Linked DNA regions of Homo sapiens: all the other regions are linked to region 2. Evidence: promoter capture Hi-C in 16 types of primary human blood cells and fetal thymus (Javierre and others, 2016). All regions are on one chromosome and are shown on one strand. The core of a region is centred on a gene start or on the middle of the fragment in contact, and the rest is flanking DNA. Distances in the headings are between cores, read along the strand shown.

Evidence for each region. Contacts are between HindIII fragments. The CHiCAGO score rates a contact against its expected background, and 5 or more counts as called.
Region 1: a contact is called between the fragment with the promoter of VN1R1 here and the fragment with the promoter of ZNF582 in region 2, in 7 of 17 cell types (neutrophils, naive CD8 T cells, monocytes and 4 more). The highest score is 12.6, in neutrophils.
Region 3: a contact is called between the fragment with the promoter of ZNF550 here and the fragment with the promoter of ZNF582 in region 2, in 6 of 17 cell types (non-activated CD4 T cells, M0 macrophages, neutrophils and 3 more). The highest score is 15.2, in non-activated CD4 T cells.
Region 4: a contact is called between the fragment with the promoter of ZNF544 here and the fragment with the promoter of ZNF582 in region 2, in 1 of 17 cell types (total CD4 T cells). The highest score is 5.1, in total CD4 T cells.
Region 5: a contact is called between the fragment with the promoter of ZNF134 here and the fragment with the promoter of ZNF582 in region 2, in 9 of 17 cell types (neutrophils, total CD8 T cells, naive CD4 T cells and 6 more). The highest score is 12.3, in neutrophils.

Annotation. Positions count from the first base shown.
Region 1 is chr19:57,454,675-57,460,214 of GRCh38, reverse strand. VN1R1 (vomeronasal 1 receptor 1) reads left to right here and starts at 3,075. Exons shown (of 1, transcript NM_020633.4): 1 at 3,075-5,425. The coding sequence starts at 3,729. The coding sequence ends at 4,790. It also overlaps the pseudogene VN1R107P. The HindIII fragment of the contact is 5,648 bases long and covers 2,642-5,540 here.
Region 2 is chr19:56,389,311-56,394,953 of GRCh38, reverse strand. It overlaps ZNF582 (zinc finger protein 582), which reads left to right and starts at 1,420. Exons shown (of 5, transcript NM_001320371.4): 1 at 1,420-1,734; 2 at 3,122-3,210; 3 at 4,453-4,579; 4 at 4,858-4,953. The coding sequence starts at 3,202. It overlaps ZNF582-DT (ZNF582 divergent transcript), which reads right to left and starts at 1,278. Exons shown (of 2, transcript NR_037160.1): 1 at 901-1,278. The HindIII fragment of the contact is 9,401 bases long and covers 1-5,061 here.
Region 3 is chr19:57,557,857-57,562,912 of GRCh38, reverse strand. ZNF550 (zinc finger protein 550) reads left to right here and starts at 3,050. Exons shown (of 4, transcript NM_001397372.1): 1 at 3,050-3,257. The coding sequence starts at 3,231. It overlaps LOC124904781 (a long non-coding RNA gene), which reads right to left and starts at 2,971. Exons shown (of 2, transcript XR_007067357.1): 1 at 2,795-2,971. RefSeq lists enhancers at 2,689-2,798, 1,743-2,942, 3,429-3,478, 2,920-3,784, 3,929-4,008. The HindIII fragment of the contact is 1,240 bases long and covers 2,424-3,663 here.
Region 4 is chr19:58,226,313-58,231,396 of GRCh38, reverse strand. ZNF544 (zinc finger protein 544) reads right to left here and starts at 2,483. Exons shown (of 7, transcript NM_014480.4): 1 at 2,451-2,483; 2 at 1,827-1,929; 3 at 935-1,003. RefSeq lists an enhancer at 1,781-2,607. The HindIII fragment of the contact is 1,767 bases long and covers 1,819-3,585 here.
Region 5 is chr19:57,612,496-57,617,954 of GRCh38, reverse strand. It overlaps ZNF134 (zinc finger protein 134), which reads right to left and starts at 3,713. Exons shown (of 3, transcript NM_003435.5): 1 at 3,452-3,713. It also overlaps a transcript of ZNF530 not described here. RefSeq lists a silencer at 3,459-3,508 and an enhancer at 3,639-3,818. The HindIII fragment of the contact is 2,580 bases long and covers 1,557-4,136 here.

The DNA.
Region 1 (5,540 bases), core at 1,826-4,325, 1.1 Mb before region 2:
GCCTCCCAAAGTGCTGAGATTACAGGCATGAGCCACCACACCCGGCCCTCACTATCATCTTAATATTTTCCTAATTTTACTTATACTGATTTGAGGAGAGTCTCTTGCTACAAATGTGTTGGACTTGCTGCTTGTGTCTGTATAGGACAAAGACTATGGAGCCACTGACCCACACCAAGAAGCCAAAACTCAAAAAGTCAGGAGAAAAGTATATAATTGTATATAAGGTGCCAAATATTTCTTGCATTGCCCAGGAGCAGACTCCATAATTGTTTTTCACACTAAGGTTTTTGCTGTTCAGTGGGCTGTTATTAAAACGTCAAGAAACAACAGATGCTGGCAAGGTGGTGGAGAAATAGGAATGCTTTTCCACTGTTGGTGGGAAGGTAAATTAGTTCAACCATTGTGGAAGACAGTGTAGCAATTCCTCAAAGACCTAAAACCAGAAATACCATTTGACCCAGCAATCCCATTACTGTGTATATATCCAAAGGAATATAAATCATTCTATTATTATCATTCTGTTATAAGGATACATGCATGTATATGTTCATTGCAGCACTATTCACAATAGCAAAGAAATGGAATCAACCCAAATGCCCATCAGTGATAAAGAAAATGTGGTACATATACACCATGGAATACTATGCAGCCATAAAAAGAATGAGATCACGTCCTTTGCAGGGATATGGATGGAGCTGGAAGCCATTATCCTCAGAAAACTAACACAGAAACAGAAAACCAAACACCAAATGTTCTCACTTATAAGTGAGAGTTGAGCGATGAGAACACATGGAGACAGGGAGGGGAACAACACACACTGGAATATGTCAAAGGGGTCGGGGGATGGAGCACATCAGGATAAATAGCTAACGCATGCTGAGCTTAATACCTAGGTGACGGGTTGATAGGTGCAGCAAACCACCATGGCACACGTTTACCTATGTAACAAACCTACACATCCGGCACCTGTATCCTGGAACTTTAAAAAATTAAATTAAATTGGCGCGGTGGCTCACGCCTGTAATCCCAGCACTTTGGGAGGCCAAGGTGGGTGGATCACGAGGTCAGGAATTCGAGACCAGCCGGGCCAACATGGTGAAACCCCATCTCTACTAAAAATACAAAAAAAATTTAGCCAGGCGCAGTGGCAGGCGCCTGTAATCCCAGATACTCAGGAGGCTGAGGCAGGTGAATCGCTTGAACGTGGGAGGTGGAGTTTGCAGTGAGCCGAGATAGCGCCACTGCACTCTAGCCTGGGCAACAGAGTGAGACTCTGTCTCAAAAAAAAAAAAAAAAGAAAGCAAAGAAAGAAAAAAAAATTAAATTAAATTAAAAAAAAAAAGGAAAATCTGTCTGAAAATTCTCACCAGTTACCAACACTTCTTTCTGAGGCTAGGAGGAGAAGGAGGTGGTATGTTAAAGTCAATAATCACACTAACTTTATACATACAAGAAGCTTTCAAAATAGTCATAGTAAAAATGGTACTTTATAAGGAGAAGCTGAAAAAATAGGAAACCAAATGCATATTGGAAATAAATTATACAACTAGGACAATGGAGCAAAATAAGAGATTAAAGCAAAGAATCAGGAACTATCTTGAAAATAAATGATGAGTTCATATAAATAGGAAAAACATTTGTCAACAAGTGGTTTGTGGGAATCTAAAAGGTTTTCATACCTCAGAGCCTGAGTTTTTTTTTTTTTTTTTTGAGACCGAGTTTCACTCTTGTTGCTCAGGCTGGAGTGCAATGGCATGATCTCGGCTCACTGCAACCTCCGCCTCTGGGGTTCAAACGATTCTCCTGCCTCAGCCTCCCGAGTAGCTGGGATTACAGGCATGCGCCACCACCTCTGACTAATTTTTGTATTTTTAGTAGAGACGGGGTTTCTCCCTGTTGGTCAGGCTGGTCTCGAACTCCCGACCTCAGCTGATCCACCAGCCTCGGCCTCCCAAACTGCTGGGATTACAGGCGTGAGCCACCTCTCGCCTGAGAATCTTGATACTGCTGTGTTATTGATTGCTCCACCCCTAAAGAGATGTAGTTATTCATGGGAGAAAATACCTCATAATTTTCCCTGATGATAGCAATTCCATAGAGACACCAAAAGAATCTAAATTATGGCCGGGCGAGGTGGCTCATCCCTGTAATCCCAGCACTTTGGGAGGCCGAGGCGGGCGGATCACGAGGTCAGGAGATCGAGACCATCCTGGCTAACACGGTGCAACCCCGTCTCTACTAAACACACACACACACACACACACACACACACACACACTAGCCGGGCGTGGTGGTGGGCGCCTGTAGTCCCAGCTACTCAGGAGGCTGAGGCAGGAGAATGGCGTGAACCCAGGAGGCTTCAGCCTCCCGAGTAGCTGGGACTACAGGCACGCACCACAACACCCAGCTAATTTTTGTATTTTTAGTAGAGACGGGGTTTCACCATGTTGGCCAGGATGGTCTCCATCTCCTGACCTTGTAATCCACCCGCCTCAGCCTCCCAAAGTGCTGAGATTACAAGCGTGAGCCACCGTGCCTGGCCGCAGTTACTATTTCTTTTGTGATTGATATATATGAATATTGTGCAATGAAATTCCCTCCCAATTGAATTATCTTTCCCTAAAAATAAACCCAAGCTTTCTGGAACATATTGAATTTCCTATTTAACAAGTTTTAAGGATATCTTAGGTGTTTCTGGGATTAGTATTTATTTTCAGGATCTTTTGCATTTACTTGTGAGAAATGGCATTGAGATAAAAATGTGTGGGCTCAAGGTGGTCATGGTTATTTCTACGGAGTCAATTCACAATCTCTAGACCTGTCCGGTGGAAAATAACAGAAATATATGTGCTTAAAATAAAATATACCATGATGCAATGTTGATTGTTCCAAAAATTATAGTTTTTAAAAATTCTTCAAGTTAGCATTTGTACTGTGCTGAAGGCCTTGTTACCAATTGTATTGTAGCGTTTTTTTAATTTCTTTTTTTTTTTTTTTTGAGACAGAGTCTCGCTCTGTCGCCCAGGCTGGAGGGCAATGGTTTGATTTCAGCTCACTGCAACCTCTGCCTCCCAGGTTCAAGCGATTCTCCTGCCTCAGCCTCCCGAGTAGCTGGGACTAGCACGCGCCGCCATGCCCGGCTAATTTTTGTATTATTAGTATTTTGTATTATTAGTAGAGACAGGGTTTCACCATGTTGGCCAGGATGGTCTCCATCTTGGCCTCCCGAAGTGCTGGAATTACAGGTGTGAGCCACTGCACCCGGCCTAAAATTTGTTTCAATGCATCAATAACAATGGTGTTTACTAAAATATTAGTGTGGAAAAGGTTTTATGGTGTATTATTTTTGCTTTTCATATCTCCAGGCTACTTAATTGAAGGTTTTATTGAAATAAGTGTAGACTCACAAGCAGTCATAAGAAATAATACAGAAAAAGCCCTGTCCATATTACCCAGGGTTCCGTCATGATTACATTTTGCAAACTATAGTATAATATCACTCTAATGATATTGACTCTTCTGTGTTCTGTTTTTATATATTTCCCTAGTTTTGCTTGTATTTACTTGTTGCATGTGTGTAAGCCCTGAGTTTTATAGGTTTGATTTGTGGATCTGTTGTGCGGTTGAGCCCTCATTCATTCACCTGCTTCTCTGCAGTTGGACACACAAGCAATTGCCTTTGCACGAACAGGGACAATCTTAATTTCTGTTTAAGATGAGAAAATATGGTTGGAGACACATTAAAACTTCTGTCTCCACTGATGACAAGATACTTCTTTCTGCTTTTTTATTCTACTGATTCTTCAGACCTCAATGAAAATCAACATCCCCTAGATTTTGATGAAATGGCTTTTGGAAAAGTAAAATCAGGGATTAGCTTCCTCATTCAGACTGGAGTTGGGATCCTGGGAAATTCCTTTCTCCTTTGTTTTTATAACTTAATTTTGTTCACTGGACACAAGCTGAGACCCACGGACTTGATTCTCAGCCAACTGGCCTTGGCTAACTCCATGGTCCTTTTCTTTAAAGGGATACCTCAGACAATGGCAGCTTTTGGATTGAAATATTTGCTGAATGACACTGGATGTAAGTTTGTCTTTTATTATCACAGGGTGGGCACAAGAGTTTCCCTCAGCACCATCTGCCTTCTCAATGGATTCCAAGCCATTAAGCTCAACCCCAGTATATGCAGGTGGATGGAGATCAAGATTAGATCCCCAAGGTTTATTGACTTCTGTTGTCTCCTCTGCTGGGCCCCCCATGTCTTGATGAATGCATCTGTTCTTCTATTAGTGAATGGCCCACTGAATAGCAAAAACAGTAGTGCAAAAAACAATTATGGATACTGTTCTTACAAAGCATCAAAGAGATTTAGCTCATTACATGCAGTCTTATATTTTTCCCCTGATTTTATGAGTTTGGGCTTCATGGTCTGGGCCAGTGGCTCCATGGTCTTCTTCCTCTACAGACACAAGCAGCAAGTCCAACACAATCACAGCAACAGACTCTCCTGCAGACCTTCCCAGGAAGCCAGAGCCACACACACCATCATGGTCCTGGTGAGCTCCTTTTTTGTTTTCTATTCAGTCCATAGTTTTCTGACAATTTGGACAACTGTAGTTGCAAACCCAGGCCAGTGGATAGTGACCAACTCTGTGTTGGTCGCCTCATGTTTCCCAGCACGCAGCCCTTTTGTCCTCATCATGAGTGATACTCATATCTCTCAGTTCTGTTTTGCCTGCAGGACAAGGAAAACACTCTTTCCTAATCTGGTTGTCATGCCATGAGTCTTTTCTCTTCATGGAATTCAGCTATTTATCATAACTCTTGCTAAGATTTAGGAAATATTAACTACTAGTTATTTGTGATAGCAACATACACATGGCCAGTAATGCTCTTGTCCAGGAAGATCTAATACCAGAGCTAAAAATGAAAGTCATGGATACTGTTACACAAAGAACACTCTATATAACTGTGTTAAGTCCTTCAGACAAGTTCAGGAAATCAAAAAGTTTAAAAAGGGAATTCTTTAGAGATTTAGGGGAGATTTCTCATTTTTGTACTATGAAGAATCATGGAATGTTTTAAAAATATTTTTAAAGCACAGTTTGATTCAGGTGCTTCTTGAACAGCATAAATCCCCTGGAGAGTCCACATGTAAGAAAGACATGTGCAGGCCGGGCACAGTGGCTCACGCCTGTAATCCCACCGTTTTGGGAGGCTGAGGCACTCCCAAATGCCTCAAGTGATCCACTCAAGATGACTTGAGGCCAGGAGTTCGAGACCAGCCTGGCCAACATGGCAAAAACCCTGTCTCAAATACAAAAATTAGCCAACCATGTGGCACACACCTGTAGTCCCAGCTACTCCAGAGGGTGAAGCACGAGAATTACTTACCAGCTTGGGTGACGGAGGGAGACTCAAAATAAAAATAAAAATAACTAAAAGTGGCTGGGCACCGTGGGTCACGCCGGTAACCCCAGCACTTTGAGAGGCTGAGGTGGGCAGATCACTTGAAGTCAGGAGTTCAAGACCAG
Region 2 (5,643 bases), core at 171-2,670:
ATTATTAAATCATTTTATTTGACCCTCAGGACAAAGCTGCAAGCCCAGCATTACATTCTTCCTTTTATGGACAAAAAAAAAAAAACAAAACAAAACCGAGATAGGCACGAAGAAACTAATAAATGGCTGAAATGCTATTTGAATCCACATCTGTCTAATTCTAAAAGTGTGCTTTCCACCACATCACCGCACCTACAAGGAAAATGCAGCCTCTACCCTCTCCTGAAGAATGTGTAAAGAGGCAATATGGTGTGTTTTGGAAAAAGCATCTTTGCAGAAAGAAAGCATTAGCTTCAGTCATATTAGCATCCTTATCCAGCAGCAGTAGCATTATTTTACATATCAGTTACTCCTCCCCAACAACTCAATGAATTAGATGCCACAATCATCCTCACTTTCAAATGTGGAGACCGAGGCACATCTCTAAGACTGGAGTTCAGGCATTCTGGCTCCAGTCTTAGAGATGGTTAAGGGTTCACACTCTTAACCATTTATTACACCATAGAGCTCACCAGGTTTGAGGGAAACAGGATCAAATCAAAAGAGTCACTCAGGACTCCAGTCCTCACTCAAGGACAAACTGTTCCACCTCGGACAGGGAGAGTTTCCGCATTCTGAGACCCAGCATAACAGGTCCTGACCGGCATCTGGCACTCGGACTCCCAATCATACTGGATCACACTGGCTCGGGATGTGTAAAGTCCAGGGCTTCTCACATTTGATGACACCAAAGCCGCCTAAAAACAAGAGAGAATTAACAACTACCTACGGCGGTCTGATATTTGCCCAAGAGATGCCGCCCCATAAAACTCCTTTACATCTTTATAACGTTTTTATTTTGCGTTCTCCTTCATAACCCACATTTAACTCACCATAGATGTAATGTTTAAAATTAGTTACCAGATAAACTCTTACGCTTCCAAACTTTAAGGTTCCTTCGAAACCTTCTGGTAAAACTGTTGTTCCACGGAAATGGGAACGTAACGGATGAGGCAATCTTCCACAGCCGCACACAGTTGTGTATCCACCGCTAAACGGTCCCAGTCATACATTCAACGACCCACGCGGAGTCAGAAGCTACCACCACACACTGTCAAAATCACGCACACACAGTGACGGCCCCTTGCCCACTCGGTCACTCGCCCACAATCTCTCGCTAGAGAATCACACGCAGATAGCACACCCAGCACCACAGACCCCAGGAAGCAACCCAGGGACTCGAACACACGAACAGCACTCCTCCGCGCACTGCGCAGGCACGCCTGCGTCCGGCTCACCCTGAAACATCGCGAGATCCGGCTTCAAGGCCGGGCTGCTGCCTTTACGCCTAAAGACTATGTTTCCCGGAAGACACTGCGGCGCCGGCCCTATCATGGCGCAGCATCGGTGTGCTTTGTGCGTCTGCGCCATCTTCCGGCTGCGCACGGCGAATCCACCGGTACCGTGGTGGAAGCGCGCCCTGGGCTGCCGGGGGCGCGGCCGCGGTGGCACTTGGACCCGAGGAGGCGGCAGGTGAGAGGTTCCGGAGCTTTCCAGGCGCTCTGGGGTCCAGCAGGAGCTGGTGCCCGGGCCGGTTGGGTCTCAGGCCTGAGAAGAACGCAGACGTCTCGCCTCATCGTCGCTCTGTGGCTTTACCGGCGTGAGACTACATTTCCCGCCGGCCCTCGCGGCGTGCGCTTTCTGGCGCCCCCTTTCTGCTTCCAGCCTCATAGCCCAGGTGCATGGACCCCTTAGGTGGGTGCGCAGGGGTCTCCGACCCCCTGAAATTGCGGATGTTTTGCATTCACTGTTATGCGTGCCTTTTTTTTTTTTTAATCTGAGAGGAAATCTTGTTTCATGAGGTTCTCAGAGAGTTACAAGACCCCAGAAGACTTAGAACCGCTAGTTTAGAAAAACTTATACTTGGGAACATTTTATATGTTCAAATTCTATGTCCAGCAATGGGGAAACACTTGAGTGGATCACAGGCCATCCTTTGTAAATAGGATATCGTGCAGTTAATACAAATAATGCTTATAAAAGTGGTCATAATAAGGAAAAGCTGCCTATTACATCATATTAAGCAACATTCATAATTATTTCACTTACACGTTACTTAGAACCAAATGTTTGTAATGCAGTAGGCACCTTATATACTCCTTTACAGAGTACTTCTTGTTTAACAGTGAGCTCAAGAACTGGTTAAATGACAACACTGCGAATACTTGGGTGTTTTTTCTTCCAATTTTTTTGTTTTGTTTTGTTTTTAGCCTGTGTGTTAGTGAGTTTGACTTCTTTTTGCTGAATGTTCTCAAAGGATTCAGTAGTTAATATCTTTGCTTGTCAGTTTTTGATAGTCATTTTTGATAGTCACTTGGCATCCCATTATATGGCTGTGCCAAAAATGATTCAACCTCTTGGCTACTTGTGGACTTGCCTACTTACGTACTAATTTTCAGTTCTCCTATTTAGCAAATATTATTGGACATGCAGCTTTGTGCACTGCTGTGTCTCTATGGAAGGACACATTTATGTGCTGATAATGGAGCACTGGGCGTGCTGTGTGTAATTTGTCTCTTACTGTTCCTTCCAACTCTATCCCATTTGTTGATGCAAGGCATGCTCCATGAAGTGGCATGCACAAAGCCTCAGTTTGGGCTGTAGAGCTTTTTGTATATTTGGCGGTTGGGAAAAGAGCCAGGTAGACTTTCAAAGGTGTTATATTTGCTGCAGGAGAGAGTTAAATGGCCTAGTCCTGGAAAGGCTTTATTCTAGGCTGGGGCTATGCAAATGATGCAGGCCTTCTATGCTCCCTGGCTTGAGGGAAGCCCTCCTTGTCCTTGAGGTAACATGTGGGTCTCAGTCACTAGAACAGCCCTCAGCATCCCTGTCTTAGACTTGCATTTGCAGCAAAACAGAACCACTGGATGTTTAGGGGAAATGGGAGGGAAAGGACCACTGGTTCCCCTTTGCCTTGCAGCAGCTAAAGCTGGTTTCCTGGGGTTGGGTGAGGATCCCTTTGCCTCCCCCTCCTTCTCATTTTCTTGGTGGGCAGAGGGCAAGCAGGTGGGGACTTGTAACTTGGCATTCTAGGAACTGTGAGGCAAGCCTAGCCTCTCATGTTTGCTCTTTCCTCCCCCAGCTCTACCGTCGCAGGACTCTGCCCTTCCCCAAGAGAGGAACCAGAAGGAGGACCTATCAGCCCTTGAAATTCTAAAAGTCATGTCCCTTGTGAGTTTTTAAATCCCATAAATATTTGCTTTCCTTATCTTGAAACTTTCCACCTGGGTTCCATCCAGAAATTTGGTTCTCAGACTTTCCCATTTTAGGGAATAAAAGGACCAGGCAGGAGTCTCCTCTCCCATTGTCCTCTCCCCTCTGACAAATGCCCACAGATTTATTCTCTATAGCATTCTGCATCTCCTGATGGTTTTCGTCTGCTAGGAGGAGAAACTCATTTCCCTGTATGAAATGAGAGCATCCTTTGTAAGAACTGAAGTTTGAAGAGATGGAATGAATGCTTAGGAGCAATCACATATAGAAAAGCAGGGGAGGTGGTGTTGGTTGGTTTCAGTTTCAGCGCATGGTACAGTGTCCTGCTTTGGGAATGATTAATGATTGGATATGTAATTGAGGTTTGGCTGGGAATCCATCAAAAATTTGATGCCAGAATTAAAGTCTAGTTTGACGTTGGACAGAGCATTTGAATCTGGGACATCCTCCATTAGTTTCTTTAGCTTAAGAGGAAGAAAAGTACAGAGCTGAGGATGGTGAGCGATGTAGCAAGTGAGATGATCATCTAGGTGGGTGAGTGGTCAGGGCTTGGAAAAGCCTTAGAGATCTGATCCAACCTCGGGATCCAAAATAAGAGGATGTTTGAGTCAGTTGTTTCACTTGATAGAAAATTGTGCACTCAATAAAAGTTATCTCCATGGTTTTTCCCATGAAGAAAAATGCTTGTGTTATGTTCCAACATAATGATGAACTTTCATCTCCAAGAAATTCTTGACTTACATGAAAATCCTGTATCTAAGATAGAAAACATGTTTCCATAATTTTAAAAAATAAAATATTTGGGGAAAATCCATCAGAAATATTTTTTGTTGTTATTGTTATTCCAAAAGATAGAAGTGATAGGTCTCACCTTGAGAATTTATTGTATGCCAAGTATAGAGTGGGCAGTGTGCTTTATTACACTGTTTCTTAACAATAAGGAAAACTCCATTTAGCTTGATTTTAATTTTCATCCCAGACCTGTACACAGAGCATTGATTTGCAGTTAAAAGGAATGTTTGAGAACAATTTGATCATTCTGTTTTACTCATCCCCATTTCTTCTGTCACCTTTCACATTCAGTCCCACCCTTCTTGTTCAACAAAACAACCCCCCCTCCCGCAAAGACCTGCCCCATCTCCTTTCATCCCACTGTGAACCATTGAAATACATATATATCATACATGCCTGTCATTCCAGGGGTCAGAATTGTTCAGGGATGTGGCCATAGTCTTCTCCCAAGAAGAATGGCAGTGGTTGGCACCTGCTCAGAGGGATTTGTACAGAGACGTGATGTTGGAGACCTACAGCAACCTGGTCTCACTGGGTAAGGTGATCTCGTCTGTTAGTTTGGAGGTTATCCTTGGGCATGTTCCTTCCTGGTCAGTTTTTGGGTGCTTTTCAGTCTTATGATTGGTTGGTCATTTTTGAGGGGTTAAAGGGCGGCGCTGTCGGCTGAAGCTGCATCCCCCTACCCCCAGGCAACTGTCCCATCTTCCTCTGGCACTTCCTGCAACTGCCTCTCCTGCTTGATGACCAGGTCCTGGATCTGAATTCTGGGGCCCCCACACCATAACCAGGTGGCATGTTTCTTCTCATCTCCAGGTCTTGCCGTTTCCAAACCTGATGTGATCTCCTTCCTAGAGCAAGGCAAAGAGCCCTGGATGGTGGAGAGAGTGGTGTCTGGAGGCCTGTGTCCAGGTGAGTGAGGTATCATTGGGAAGGGAGCAGCCACTGCAGGTATCAGGTCCGCTGGAAGTGGCCCTTTGTCTTAGAAGATCTTCCCTGCAGGTTGCTACCTTCAAAGCTTATGTCTTACGTGTTGTTTTCCTCAGCTCGTCAGCAGCATTTGACAAAGGTGGCTGCTCCTTCCTCCTGAAACACTTTAAAAATTCAACCTGGATTATAGGGCTAGACTGAGTACAAATATGGTGGTTCCTAAGGAAAGTATTTTGTCTTTGGAAAGATGTCTGTATCTTTTGACCATTTTTCTTTTTTTATTAATTTTAATTTTAATATTTAAAATTTTTTTTAACTTCAGGAGTATAAGTGCAGGTTTGTTAAATAGGTAAACTTGTGTCATGGGGGTTTGTTTACAGATTATTTCATCACCCAGGTATTAAGCCTAGTACTCATTAGTTACTGTTCCTGATTCTCTCCCTCCGCCCAACCTTCCATTCTCTGAAAGGCCCATGTGTGTTGTCCCGCTCTGTGTGTCCATGTGTCCTCATTTAGCTCCCACTTATAAGTGAGAACATGCAGTATTTGGTTTTCCGTTCCTGTGTTAGTTTGCTTAGGATAATGGCTTCCAGCTCCATCCATGTCCCTGCAAAGGACATGATCTTGTCCTTTGACCATTTTTCTAAAGGAATTTGTATCGGTTTGTTTGAA
Region 3 (5,056 bases), core at 1,801-4,300, 1.2 Mb before region 2:
GGCGTGGTAGCTCACACATGTAATCCTAGCACTTTGGGAAGCTGAGGCGGACAGATCACGAGGTCAGGAGATTGAGACCATCCTGGCTAATGCGGTGAAACCCCATCTCTACTAAAAATACAAAAAATCAGCCTGGCATGGTGGCATGTGCCTGTAGTCCCAGCTACTTGGGAGGCTGAGGCAGGAGAATCGCTTGAACCTGGGAGGTGGTGGTTGCGGTGAACCAAGACTGTGCTACTGCACTCCAGCTTGGGTGACAGAGCAAGATTCCATCTTAAAAAAAAAATTGCTAAGAGTTACCATTATGACATGTAATTGAGACTACTGAATAGATTTACATGCAATGTGTGTAAAAACAGTAAAATGTGTTTTTTGTAAAAAATTATAAGAAGGCATGGCAATGTACGTTTTGCCTAGGGATAAAGAATTGTCTTAAAGTAGATAAAATACAACTGAAGGTTTAAGCAAACTGGGGAAAAAATTGTAAGAATTAATCTTGCAAAGGAAACTCTGTGTGAATATATTGACTACATTCAAAAGGGTATTATGTGGTTTTCTGTAAATTGAGCATTGAAATAAAAGCACAACAAAGAACTCTTAATGCATGAATCTACTCTTTAGCAAAATTTGTAAAGGGTTATAAAAGGTTTGTGAAAATCTCACCTCATTGTCAAACTGGTTAAGATTGGATAGAATTGCCTATAATTGTTTCATTAAAAATTGTGGTTGACATTAATAGTACACTAATGTAAGGGTGAAATTTGGCTTTCTCTCTCTTGAACACAATTTTCATGTAATAGTAAAGGCTAATGAAAGGTTTTTGCTTTTTCAAATTTTTGAGTCATCATTTTGGCAAAATAAATAACTTATAGTAATCTGGAATTCTAGTACATAACATCAAATATTTTAAGCCTGTTAACATATTTAACAGGCTTCCACAAATCAATTGTCTTTCTTGACACCTACGTTTTGGATGCTACAGAGGGTCCCTGGGGCATCCAGAAAAGAGGCAAGCAGGATTATTTGACATGTTTTGTTACATGGGATTGCCAAAATGATGTCTAATCTTCTTCAGGTTATATTTCAGCAAATACTATTAATATGTGTTCCAAAACTGCATGGGATTTAGAAAACTCTAATGTGAAAGTATACACTATCAACCACAATTAAGGTTGTTATGTTGTTATTGTAAACCACGGAGATAACCAAATTTTTTTTGTCAATCATGTTTTTGACTAACCACCCTGGACATTTTGTCATTTACAGACAATTGTTGTCTTGTTTTAATCCTCTTCAAAATATGGTTCATAATCAGATGTAGGAATACTTTAACAGGTATTCCTAAATGCAGGTTTCTGATAACTGAAAAACATACAGGACTCATGAAAAGCTAAAATGTTTATAAATATCAAGCAGAACAAGAGTTAACAGAATAGGCTGAACTAATAGAAAAACTGAAATAATCTTTTTGACTTTTGCTTGGAACATTGCTGATCCTTGTTTTGTTTTTCAGAGTCAAGGAAACTTCTTTTGAGCTAGCTACAGCCTTTAACAATTGAGTAAGGTTTACTCCTGAGAACAAAATTTGGAACATGTTTGTTTCTCTCTGCCTTATTGGTTCTTTAAGGACCACTGCAACATGGTCTTGGGAATTATACTTCAAGAAGCCTATAAGGTTAAAGGGTGTTTATACTCACAGTGATATAGGAATAGCACTGGGTGGTTGCAGGAGGATGGAAAAATTCGAACAACAAATAAAAACAAGAACTAGGCAAAGAAACCATAGGATAACAGAAAACCCAAAATAAGAGAAAGAATGGCCAAAATCCCAGTCAGGATGACATGTCCATGACTCTTCTGGGCAAAGCCAAATAAGAGAGAAAGGGGGCAGTAACCAGGTGGGTCCCTGAATTTCCCTCCTTTTCCAGAATACCTAATAATTATTCCACTCTCTAATTAAAGAAACACCCACAAAATAGGAATGCTGTGTGGTCACAGGAGAAGGGGGAAAACATCAAGCTGTTAAAATTAGCTACTCCAACAAGAAGACTGGGCTGATGAGACCTTAACAAACAGGATTGGGGCTAGGCTGTCCCATGACGCTAGATTTGACCCATTTCCTACCCCAGACCTAATTATACACTCATTGCCACATTAAATCACACACCCACCAGTGCCAGGCCAATCCAAGCACGCCCACATTTAGTATAAAAATGGTTGGCACCCCAATTCTAAGAAATTCCCACCTTTTCCTAGAAAAACCTCATGATTATCCCACCCCCTAATTAGAAGAGCCCATAAAATTAGAAACCCAAACTCCATTGTGCATGACCCGCTCTCCCTCGTACGTCCGCATTTCCCTCTTCTCTTGGGAAAAGTACACTCTTCTCAAAAATGTGTACTTTTTCTTCCCAATAAAAGCTTCTTGCCTTTGGCTTCATTTTGACTCATCCCTGCATTCTTTCTCACGATGGTGTCACGAAGCTGGACTCCGGAAGCGGGCGGGGACTCACGGCCCCTGGAGACCTTCCTGAGCCCTGGGCAACACCAGTCCACACAGAGGAGGCAGACGTCCCACAGACGGAACCCCACGAGCATGTCCCGGGAATGGCTCCACGCGGGAAGCGGGGGTCCAGATCCACGCCAGTCCCAGGGACAGTGCCTGGCGTCAGGGTGGAGGAGGACGCAGTAACCAGGCGTAAGATTTTACTGGTACATGGGAATGTCACTGGGTCACTCAGAGGAGGCAAGCGGGGAACCTCGTGGCAGGGCCCCCTTTATCAAACTCGTTTACCTGGGTGCCTGGGCGAGTGCTCACAGCCTGCTTGTAGGGACGTTGAGGCATCCGAATAATAGGAAGTTTTAAAAATTTACAATCCAGTGTGTACACTTGCTCCGCTAAGATCATCTGAGATATACAGAAACATGGTGTGCATAATAAAAAAGGAAAAAGAGCCAAGCCTGGCCTCTTACGGGACAAGACTACATTACCTAGAAGGCAGTGGGCCGGCGCAGGAAAAGGCGTGGCAGGCGACCGCGACACAGGGGCGGGACTTCCGGCCTCGCTGGCGTGGACGTTTGTGGTGGGGCGTGTTGGTCCGCGCTCTCAGAACTGTGCTGGGAAGGATGGTAGGGCGACTGGGGCTCACCTCCGCACCGTTGTAGGACCCGGGGTAGGGTTTTGAGCCCGTGGGAGCTGCCCCACGCGGCCTCGTCCTGCCAACGGTCGGATGGCGGAGACGAAGGACGCAGCGCAGGTGAGCAGACTGGCTCGGCTCCCCGCGGCCACCCGGCCTCAGTGTCCCGGGCCCGACGAGCGGAAGGACGGCGTTTCAGGGTCGTCCTCAGTGCAGTCCCTGCCGTTGCTTCTTAGAGGCCTAGAAGGGGGTCGCGCGGTCCCGGGTCCGGAATGCAGGCCCGCGGTGGCGTGGGGAGCGTCCCCGTTTCTGGGGTGCGCGGCGTTGTGGTATGAAATAGGGCTTTTAGGGTCCCGGAACCCCTCACAGGTGAGAGGAGCGACCGCAGTCCTCCTCGTGGCTCTTCCAACCATGTCCTTTCTCGGGCCTGCGACCTTGAACAAGTCCCGTTACTGTCCTCGTCCTTCATTTTTGCGCGCGCAAAGTAGAAATATTTACTCTTCCCCCCCCCGGGGTTGAGGAAGCTTGAACGGCTCCCTGGGTGATGTGTGTGTGTCCGTCTCAGTGCACAGCACGGTCCGGGGACGTCGCTCAGGATGTTGTTTCCGGAGCTGCTCCCTGGGCCTGTGCTAGGTTTGGAGACTCAACCCCAGCAGGAGTCTGACCCTCTGGCCTCCTTGGCCTCCTGTCTCTACAACACGAAGGGCAGCGGCTGAAAGAGGTGGGAGGAGCGTTTCTGCGGTTGCTGCTATGCCAGGGCAGAAAAGGTGGTAGGGCAGGCTGAGGAATTTGTCTTTCAGTTTAGGGCAAGGGACGCTGGGTTGCAACTAACAGTATATTTTCCTGTTTAAGACATTTAGTTACAGGTGAAAAACGAGTCCATTAAAATGTTCAGTGGCGATGGTATGCAGGATGTAGTGTCCCTTTGGAGATAACACATGAGGCCCAGGGTTACTCTCTAGCAGTCACTCTGATTACTTTCATGATAGCCCAGATTACTGTCAGCTCCTGTCGTAGTTGTTAATTTCTCATCCACCTCTCCCTCCTTTGCTTTATTTCTGACTCCCTCTGGTGTCCGCTGCTTAAAGAGGTCTCGTCTGTTGCACCGTTTAAAGCTGACCAGAGTCTCTTTGGTCTCCTTGCTCTGTTTTCTTGTCATCTGAATCTTTAAGGCCATCTGACATTGCCTTACTCATTTATTTAGTTGCCTGTTTAGGATCTTTTTCCAACCCTGGAATGTGAGTGCCTGTTGCTTCCCTCTCCCAAGACCCAGAACAGCCAGGCTTAAGTACATTTATTGTACTTAATAAATGGTTGATGATTGAATAGGCCTCTCTTATAGGGACTCTCATCACATTTCCAATAAATCCACCCCCTCCTACCAGCATGGTCTGCAAGGCTGTACTTGGTTTGCCCTTTTGACCGCATCTTCTTTCTCCTCTTCCATTGTCCCCTTTCTCACTGCATTCATCCAGGGAATCCTGAGCTTGCCAAGCTCTTTCCCATTTTCAGCCTTTGCCCTTGCACTTCCCTTTGTCTGAGACATTGTTCTCAGGTCTCTGCGGGGCTGCAGTTCCACACCCATCCTGGCAGTGCTGGCTGTAGCTAAAAGCACCCCTCACTCCCACCTGCCTGCTCTCTGGCAGCTTGGTGAGGTGTTTTAGCGGTGCTCAAATGCTGCTTTTGCTTTTTAAATGTGAGGCTGTGCCTGATTTCTAAAGCTCCCTGAGCCTTTGCTGACTGTGAAATGGAAGTGATAACGACATTTACCTCTGGGCCTGTCAGGGGATTAATAAAGTTCCCAAACACATCAGGCACTTACATGTGCTAGGCACTCCACTGATTGCCTAAGTGAACATTTTCTGTTTAGTTCTTAGAGCTGCCTGCTGAGATGGGAATAGTTATTGTGTTGATTCGGA
Region 4 (5,084 bases), core at 1,234-3,733, 1.8 Mb before region 2:
ACCCCACAAAGACAATTAACAGAATTTACCCTGCTTTCTAAATGAGGAAACCAAGGCAGAAAGAACTTGAGTAAAATTTAACTGAGGCCTCGTGGCTGGGGAGTGAGAAGGTGGGAGCTCCATAGCTCATGGCCCTAAGCACACTACCACTCAGGCTCCCAGCCTCCCCGTCTGGTACACCCCACCCCAGCCCAGCCCAATGCCCCTGTTCTTTTTCTTAACATCCTTGGCCTGAGGCCCACCTCTTGGCCTCTCTGATCTGTTTGTTCTGTGCAATCTGCCTATGCCCTTGACTGCCCTCTCTGCCCAACCCTGCTAGTTTCTGAGTTCTGGGTGGTATAGGAGTTCAGGAACACCAGTATCCACTCAGTCACTATCCCCTTACAGCTGCGAGCTCATGCTCTCACACCCTACTTCAGTCCCCTCCCACCACTGTCCTCTCTGTGCAGACAAATCGGCCTTTTAATTCACTCCAAGGGATGACTCTGGACTCTTTCAACCTCCTGGCACACAAACTCCTGCAGGCCTGCACTCATTAGTAGCTCCCTTCAAATTCTGAGCTGAGATGTCTTCTCCCTGGTCAAGATGAATCCATATCCCAGTGCCCCACCCCCTGCCTCTTCTCCTCTCAGGTGAGGCCTGAACAGAGTGACCAACACTCTCAGTTTCCCCCTCCTCATCTTGCCCATCCTGCTCTGCTCTCTCACTCCCAAACACACACACAAACACAAATGTAGACCACATCCAAGAGGTCTGCCCAATATCTTATGTGTTACTATCTTGTCCTGATGCTCCTGGCCTTCCCTGGGGAATCTCTCACTGCCTGTGTCCATCTTTGCTCTCTAACCCTGTCCTTCCTTGTCTGGAGGCATCCAAGGGCAACGGCTGAGAACACTCACTTTGCAACCTGCTGTCAAAGTACTGGCTCCATTACCTGCCACTGTAGGACTCTGAACGGGTCTCTTTAACCTCTCCAGGCCTCAGTTTCCTCATCCGTAGACATCTGGAAAAACAGCAAGACCTGCCTTGTGAGGATGCTAAAAGAATTAATTGAGTTGCATTTACAGAGCTTAACATTGTGTTAACCTGCAAAAGGGGCACAACACATGTATTCATAGTGATTATACTTGGACATAAAATTCCCCATCTGTTCCTCATACTGGACCTGTATGGTGGCTGATCTGGCAGAAGTCCCTCTGGCTGCAGGGCTGGGGAGGGAGTTGCTTTCTCTTTCCTTTTCCAGTTTTCTCCTTCCCTGCTTGTGGGGTGACGTTTCCAATCTGCTCCAGGTTACGTGTCCAGCCCAAACCTCCTGGGCTTCCTGCCACTGCCATTCCCTCCTCCACATTCAGCCATGTCACCCACATGCTCCTCAACTCCCATGCAGAGACTGACCAGGCATACCACATCTTCCTTGCACTGTGACTTCTACCCTGGCTCCACGCTGGAAACAGAAACACAGTCTTCCTCCACTCCTTCCTGTCTTTTGGCATCCCTCCTTACACGGAGTCATTTCCACAATCAGATGTTTCCCTACTCCCTTAGACTCTTGAAATCCAACCCCATGCCTTCCTCATTAGCACTGCCTTGTACGGTCCCCATCAAATATCACCCAACACAAATGGAACCCCGATCCCTAACTTACAGGCGTTACATACACATCCCATCCTGTTCACCTCTGTAGTCTCTCTATGGGGTGCACCAGCATCGCTTAACCAGTGCAGGCCCCCAACACCCCAGTTACCCCTGCCCTGCGTGGACTGGCCTTAATCTTCTGTTCACTTGGAAAATACACATGTTCTCTGCAAGGTTCAAGCTTCACGTACCATTGGAAGAAAATGTGTCCACGTCTGGAGCTGGGATGACCTCTGGGGTCCAATAGGCGTCACCTGCCTGGTGCCGCTGTGCCAGGAGGCTCTTGGCTGCCACCTGTGGATAAGCCGCAGAAGATGAGTTGAGGGAGGAAAAAGGAGCCGGGAGAGGCCCGCTGGGTCGGCAGCCCCAGAGCTCCAGACGCCAGCCTGAATCCCCCGCCCCTGCAGCCCTCGACCCAGGCACCCTCTGTCGGGAGGGCCCACCCAGTCCCACCCAGTCCCACCCAGTCCCACCCAGTCCCACCCAGTTCCACCCCTGCCCGTACCTGCGAGGTACTATAAGTTCCCTCCCAGCTCTGCAGCAGGAGAGCCTCCCGACAAGCTCAGACCCAGCCGGGCGCTCCTGCAGGGGAAACCTGACTGGACCGGCCTTCCCCGTCCCTGAGGCCGGAGAGATCCCGATCCCATCAGGCCCCTGCCCTTGCTCGGCCTCGCCGCATGAGGGACCCCCGCAGGCCCTGCTCGTTTCTCCGGCACGCCCAGATCACTTGGGGCGGCTCTGGCCTGGTCCTGCGCTCCGGCCGCACCCGGCTAACAGTGAAACCTCCGAGCCAACCTTGAGGCCGCCAGACTCACCTGCACGCACCGGCCAATGGCGGTGCTTCCGGTGGCCGGCGGACGTGCCCGCGCTCCGCGCAACAAACAACTCCCAGAAGGCCGCGCGCCGGTAGCCGTTGCTCCCACAGGCATAGTCATTGCCGGCGGGAGCATGGGGCCCCGCGGCGGCGGGATGAGCTTTTTCCTGTGTTCGCGACTAGCATTGTGGCTTAGGGAGTTGCTTCCCGCGGCTCTGCTCCTTGCAGCGCCTGTCCCCTCCCCCTTAAACGGGCCACGCTGGTTCTCATCCAGCAACCGAAGCCGAGACTGTGGAGGCGGCGGTCGGCGTCCAGGGCGGGACTAGCGCCTATGGGGCTCGGCGCTGTCATCTCGGGTGCCTTCCCGGCGCCTTGCCCTGCTGGGGAGAGAGACCAAGACTGAGCCATGAGAACAGTCCAAGGCCGTTAACCGGGAGCTCAGGGGCAAGGGCGCCCGCCAACATCTGCGCCTGTGGCAGGGACTCAGGGACAGCCTGGGCGTGGGGACGCGTCCTAGTGATAGAAACAAAGCCCCGGGAGTGCCCTGCTTGGAGCATTCCGAGTGGAAGGTGGAAGCACGCTAACTGGAGGCGATTCGTCCTAGGTGATCGCTCAGTCGAGCCTATTTGGCTTTCTGTGGTAGCTCCTAAGTGGGACAGGGAAAAAAATAGGGAGGCTGGCAGTGACCAAGTTCTGTTTTGTACCTATTGCTGCAGAAGTTGTGGGACAGAGTTCTGTTATTATAAATGGTCTGATGTTCAGTCTCAGTGCGTTGTGGGGCTCAATGTCTGAGACCCACCACCGCCTGACCCGTCCTGGCTCTTCAATGAGGGAGACCACAGGAAACTTTCCTACGAAGGCCAGGTAGGCGGGAACCACTGTGGCTCAGGCACCCTCAGCTCCTGGACTGTGCTTTTGTGTCTGGGGTGCATCTGTGACTAGCCTTCCTTGGCTTGACTGTTTTGTAGCTGACCTTGTCGATAGCTTTACCCAACAGTCATCATCTTTTTACTTGCTTATTTTCATACCTGGCTAGCACGACCCTGCAATTTTTAGATTCTTCCGGGAAATCTAGAATCTAACTCCCTAAGGGAGGATCTTGATGGATTCTAAGCTAATCAGAATGGACTCAAGCTTCTTGCTGTGTGAATTAGGCAAGGATATTCTGGCCAAGGAGAAATAAGGCTGCTAGGGGTTTCCTGGGAAGGTTCCCTCAGTCTTTTTTTTTTTTTTTTTTTTTTTTTTTTTTTGTGAGACGGAGTCTCGCTCTGTCCACCAGGCTGGAGTGCAGTGGTACGATCTAGGCCCACGGCACTCTCCGCCTTCCGGGTTCACGCCTTTCTCCTGCCTCAGCCTCCCGAGTAGCTGGGACTACAGGCGCCCGCCACCACGCCCGGCTAATTTTTTGTAATTTTTCTTTTTTAGTAGAGACGGTGTTTCTCCCTGTTAGCCAGGATGGTCTCGATCTCCTGACCTCATGATCCACCCGCCTCGGCCTCCCAAAGTGCTGGCATTACAGGCATGAGCCACCGCTCCCGGCCGGTTCCCTCAGTCTTAAAAGTGGACATAAGATAGCAATGTGTCTTCTTTTGCCCCTGGACCGTGATGTCTGTATGTGATGTGTAGGACAATTACAAGCACACTGGCACCATGAGGAAGCCACCCCAGGAGGTAAAGGCAACATGCTGAGAATGGCACAGCAGAAAAATGGAAAGAACCAGTATCCATGATGGAATGAATCCTCTTTGTGCCACTGAATCAACATTGCCTATGCTCACCTCAGGGACTTTTCATTATGAGATAATAAATGATCTTGTTTGTTTTTATTATAGAAAATTTCAGGCCAGGAGTGGTGGCTCACGCCTGTAATCCCAGCACTTTGGGAGGCTGAGGCAGGCCGATCACGAAGTCAGGAGATCGAGACCATCCTGGTTAACATGGTGAAACCCCGTCTCTACAAAAAATACAAAAAATTAGCCGGGCGTGGTGGCGGGAGCCTGTAGTCCCAGCTCCTTGGGAGGCTGAGGCAGGAGAATGGCCCTGAACCCAGGAGGCGGAGCTTGCAGTGAGCCAAGATCACGCCACTGCACTCTAGCCTGGGCAACAGAGGGAGACTCCGTCTCAAAAAAAAAAAAAGTTCAAGTAAATAAGAACTTTGATGTTACATTTCTGTTTACTGTTTCCATGTCTGTATCAATAATGGAGTCGTCTGAGGAACAACTTTCCCTACATCAGTGTTTATATTATTCAGTTTTAGGCTTAGTGCTTAAGCTTAGTGATCGCCTTTTGTAGGATTGTGTCATAAGAGCAAAGAATGACCATATATTGTTACATTAAAAATGTTACCTTTGGCTGGGCACAGTGGCTTATGCCTGTAATTCCAGCACTTTGGGAGGCTGAGACAGGTGAATCACCTGAGGTCATGAGTGCAAGGTCAGCCTGGCCAACATGGCGAAACCCTGTCTCTACTAAAAATACAAAAACTAGCCAGGTGTGGTGGTGGGCACCTGTAATCCCAGCTACTCAGGAGGCTGAGACAGGAGAATGGCTTGAGCCCAGGAGGTGGAGGTTGCAGTGAGCCGAGATGGTGCCACTGCACTCCTCCAGCCTGCCTCTGACTCAAAAAAAAAAAAAA
Region 5 (5,459 bases), core at 2,464-4,963, 1.2 Mb before region 2:
AGAGCTGAATAAGCACTGGCTCTGGCCTCACTGCCACCTCACTTCTATTACTACAGTACTTCACCTCACATCCACTCTCTGCCTGGAACGCTTTGCCACCTGCCTGACCCTATTATTCCCCTTCCTCCCAGGGACATTTCCCTCCCTCTTCTAGACTCTAAGATGGCCCCTACCTCTACCCTGCTGTGTCTGCCCTTACAGTGTGCTGATGGCACTGTCACCATGACCTAAAGATTCTCTCTCTAAATTGGAAGCAAAGCTCCATCCTGATCCACATGCTGGCTGCCACCCTGTGGATAGCTCCAACCTGAATCCCTTCTCTGAACTTCAGATCTCTGTGTCCAGCTGTCTACTTGACACCTCCACTCAAGTGTCTTTGGAACATGGTAGATTCCACATAGCCAAACTGCACTCCTGATATTACCTCTGAAAGGTACTCCTACCACCAACTTTGTCACTTCAGTTGATGGCATCTTTATATCTTCTCAGACTAAAAAATCCAGGGTCTTCCTTCACCCCTTGCCTTTTCTTTCTCATCTTCCACATCAGAAAATCTGGTTGGTCCCACTTTAAGAAAAATGATTCAGAATCCATCCACATCTCCCACCTCTACAGCGACCACTCTGGTCCAACCTGAACTGTTGCATTAAGCTCCTCAGTGGTATTCCTTCCTTCATCCTCACTCCCACAGTCTTTTTTCACTGTACAGAGGAAGTTGGTTAAGACCAAAGTCAGATCACTCCCTCCTAGCTCCAAACCTGCAGTGGCTCCCAATTCTCTCAGCATACAAACCCAGATCCTCAGGCTGCCATTTCTGGGCTGAATCCTGTCCCTGCTGTCTGATCCCACCAGACATAATGGAGGCCTGAGGTTCCCTGAACACTCCTAGTTTAGCCTTAAGTTAAGTATTTGCACATGCTGGTTCCTATGCCTGAGATAATGTTCCACATTTCATCCCATTGCTTGCCAGAAATAGAAACCCTTCCACATAATTCCAAAACAGAATTTACAACACAGAGCTTTGGGTGACTGCAGGACCTCCAAGAACGGTAGGCAGAAGGGACACTGAAGAGTCCCAGAACACTATCATTCTCCACACTGAGTTGCTGAGATAATGGGGGTGTGTTGGGCTAAGTGAGGGCCTGAGACAATCTACTCTCATCTAGGTAGGAATCATAAGTTTCTGCCACCATGGCAACCTCACAAGAGGAGGGAAGCTGGGAGTGGCAGGTTCCCACAGTGGGATCTCATCGACTGAACTGTTTCCCTAAGCCCTGCCTACCCTGCCCTTTGGCAGGAATGATTTTGGGTTACCTCTCTAACTTCAGATACTCAGATCTCAGTGCTGGCTCCCACCAGCTGTGTGAACATAAAGACCAGCGTCTGAGTGTCCTCATCTTAAAAGTGGGGATAATAATGGCACCCACCTCATAGGGCTACTGTTTGTATCAGGCTTGTCTGTACATCTCAAGTGCCTTTGAAACAGCTACTACTATCCATGCAAATGAACTGATGAGTTTTTGAAAAATTAGGTTTGTTTTGCCTGCTTTAAAGCTTTTAAGAAAATTTGGTTAAGATTTTTCCATTGTAATAAAATACTTCAAGGCAACTTAATATTTTGACCAATCATTAAGTGCTAGTATAAATTTCCCTTACTTTGTACATACATTTTTTAGTTCCTTCTGCGTACTTGCAAGGTGTACACTAGCCCTTGCACTAAACCAGCCTACCTGATACATATTCCTCTGAAGGGGAGCTGCAGTGATCCTTCATTAGAGATGTTCATCAATTCTGCTTACCTGAGGGTTTGGGTAACTGAGGCACCAATGCACTGGTTGGGGATGGGACTGCTCCACAGGCAGCGCCCATGAAGGCATGCTGAGCCTGTAGGGTGGCAAACCTACTGCATCCCTCACCTTGGTCTCCAGTGCAGGCCAGGCTACTTATGCTCTACAGCCCTCTCCTCTTGCTGACACTATAAGATATAATAAAATTCCTCTTCAAAGGTTTAGCCTGTTAACTTCCTTGTTCTTTGTTCTCAAACCTTTCTTGTTCTCCATGCCTCCTTGCCCCTAGTTACTATAAACAACCTTCCTGTAAGCACTAACCAATAATTCACATCTGTTCCCTTACTCACTTTGCACCCATTGCCCCCGCCAAAACCACACGTCCTACACAACTCACATGTCCCACCACTGTAACTCACCTTCCCCTTCCCTCTTCCTTATTTGGAAAATACTCACAAATACCCAATTGGCTCAGCTTAGATTAAGCGGTCCGACCCCAGCCCATGGGGGAGTGACACAGAGGAAGGTAGGGACTATGGGTTAGAGATAAAAACCCCTTCCCTCCTTTGTTCAGTGTGCTCTTGGGATCGTGATTAACACAGGCAGCACACTTGCACAGAAGTAAATTGCCTTGCTGAGAAAACTTTTGCCTGAGTGCTGGTTTCACTTTGCAGCACCAAGCATTGACTTCCAACAACACCATCTAGAATGCTTTCACATGCCAGGACCCCTCCTTTCTGGAAGGAATCTTAAGTGTCCACCCCTTCATCCCTGGCCTTCCACCCTAAACCCACCTCTCACTTCAGAGACCACACAAAATAACTTCCTTGAAATTCCACCCTCTAAATCTGATCTACTACAGGCTTTGACCTTATGCCTCACCCATTGAAGTCTCTAGCACAACTCCCTCTCTAGAACCCCAGACCTGCATGTTCAGCTACCCGTGATGAACCTCCAGTGCAGAACACCTTAGATTCACCAAGTCCAAAACCCAATTCCTGATGCCCCTGAAACGTGCTCCCTGCTGTGACTTACCAATTTCCATTCTTTCACACGTTCAGGAAGGAAAACAGGCCAAAAAAACCCTGGATAGCCCTTTCCTCCCTACATTCACTCACGACCACATCTGATGCGGCAGGAAACCCCATTGGTTCCATCTTTAAAAATCTACCCAGAATCTCATGACTTCCCCACCCAACCCCTCCTGCCACTGCTCTGGCCCAGCCACCACCGCAACACTTCTGGAGTTTGTTGCAGGGACCTCCTCAAACGTCTCCTTGCCTCCATCCTCATCGTTTCTACCTCACTGTAGTCGGTTTCCTCCTCAGCAAACATTGGAATACTTTAAAAATCCTTTTTCGGATCCCTTCCCTCCACCATTCAAAACCCGCCATGGCTCCTATCGTCCTCGCAATGAAGGAGCAACTTCTCCCCTCGACATTGCAGGCCTGACTACGGTTCACACACGCTCCCGACTGCTACGGGCTCAGTCCAGCTCCAAACCTATGCTCAGGCTGCCCCTCTGCCAGTCACACTCGCCCCCACCCACCAGCGCCCCGCTGCCTTGGACACTGGGGCCTGCGCTGCAGGGACTCAGACAGGCGCTCCTCATTTGGAACTTCAGGATTTGGGGCGGGCGAAAGTCTGGGAAAGGCAGCACCCACCTGCGCCGGGCCCATCACCGCGGCCGCCGCCATCACAGTTCGTAGACCACCCGGAGCCGCGAGGGGGTCCCAGGTCGCGGGACCCTGGCACCGCGGTCGTCCGTCCCCGGGGGCGCAGGCGGGGTCTTCGCTGGCGAGCCACTCCGCAGAGCGAACAGCGACTTCTCCCGCACCCTCCCGCTTCCGTCACCTCGGAACCGCCCAGCAACCCCGAGCTTCTGCTCCGATGGTTCCACCTAAGAGCCGACAAGATGTCCACCGCGAGGAAGATACCGGAAGTCCCGCCCAGAGAGCTTCCGTCCGCAGGGAGACGCCCCTAAGAGTGCCGCCGCCGGGCGGCGCACAGGTTTCTGGGCAATGCAGTTCTCATGTGCACTTGGCCGTGGTGACGGCTAACTCCCCTGCACGCTGGGCAAAGGCCAAATGGTACTGCGAGGGGCGCTGAGAAATTATGCCCTGAGACTCTGAGGTCAGGGCGTGGCTTCGCTCCTTTTAAAGGACCCTCAACCAGGTCTTGTGTAGTGAGGTCTGCAGGGATCCCCGAAATATTGGGATATATTCTTACAGATGTTCCCTGAAGCCACACCACCAAATGGACACACAACATCCAATGTCACTCTGAGTCCACTCATAGTTCAGTCAAATTTCCTTCATTTAAAAAATATGTGTACTGTAGAGGGAAGCTTTGAGTCAGTTTTGTGAGCCTCAGTTGGGTCAGAGTTAACAGAGAATTGTCCCCAGGCAGGGCCATGGAGTGGAAGAATGGTCTCCAGACAGTGGCTATGGAGGGATGCTGGAGCTCCCTGAGGCAAGTGGACTAATATAGAGCTCTTCCTCTGGTTTCCTCAGAAAAAAAATACCTGAGAGAACCATGAGGAGGAAGACAGGCGAGAGAAGGTGGTCAAGGAAGGCACCTTTCCTGCCTGTATGGTCACTAATGTCCAACCAAAGGAGAAATATTCTTTTATCCAAATGAGAGTTCCTAGCCCAAAAGTTGAGATATATCTATTTCCTTTTGGTGATGTTTCTTATCTGAAAAGAAGAACCATTATAAATGCTTTTATATGCCAAGACAGGGGCTGAAAATGTGGTGTCTGAACCCAGAAATAAAGATTTGGAAAATTGGGATCAGATTTCTTGGCTGGGAGGTGATTCTCATTTCACCTGCAATTACACCGACAGTGTCTGAATTGAGAATTGAGATTTATTTATGGTTTTAAAAAAGAAAAGGGCGAGTGTATGGGGAAAGAAAGACAAAAACATTTGTGAATTGTTTAAATTACTCAAAAGTTGTTTTGTGTTTTTTTTTTTTGAGACGGAGTCTTGCTCAGTCGCCCAGGCTGGAGTGCAGTGGTGCGACCATAGCTCACTGCAGGCTCCGCCTCCCAGGTTCACACTATTCTCCTGCCTCAGCCTCCGGAGTAGCTGGGATTACAGGCGCCTGCCACCATGCCCGGCTAACTTTTTGTATTTTTAGTAGAGATGGGGTTTCACCGTGTTAGCCAGGATGGTCTCGATCTCCTGACCTCGTGATCTGCCCGCCTCAGCCTCCCAAAGTGCTGGGATTACAGGAGAGCCCCCGCGCCCGGCCAAATTACTCAAAGTTAATAATTCTGTAGTTATTCACAGATACATGACGAAATGGACCTGGAGAAACATATCTGTGATAAGTGAAAACGGTTAAGATGACAGCAAAATTTGAGCAGGAGACATTGAATTCTGAGAAGTGAGCAAATGAAGCTGAGCACACAGCTGTGTTAGAACTATGACTACAAGCAGCGTTTAGTCTCCAAAATGTAATTTTATTTATTTATTTAATTTTGGAGACAGGATCTCACTGTGTTGCACAGGCTGGAGTGTAGTGGCACGATCATAGCTTGCTGCAGCCTCAAACTCTTGGGCTCAAGGGATCCTCCCACCTCAGCCTCCCAAAAAGTTGGGATTACAGATGTGAGCCACCATGCCAGGCCTCTTTTCATTCTTGAAAACACTCAATAATACCTGGAAG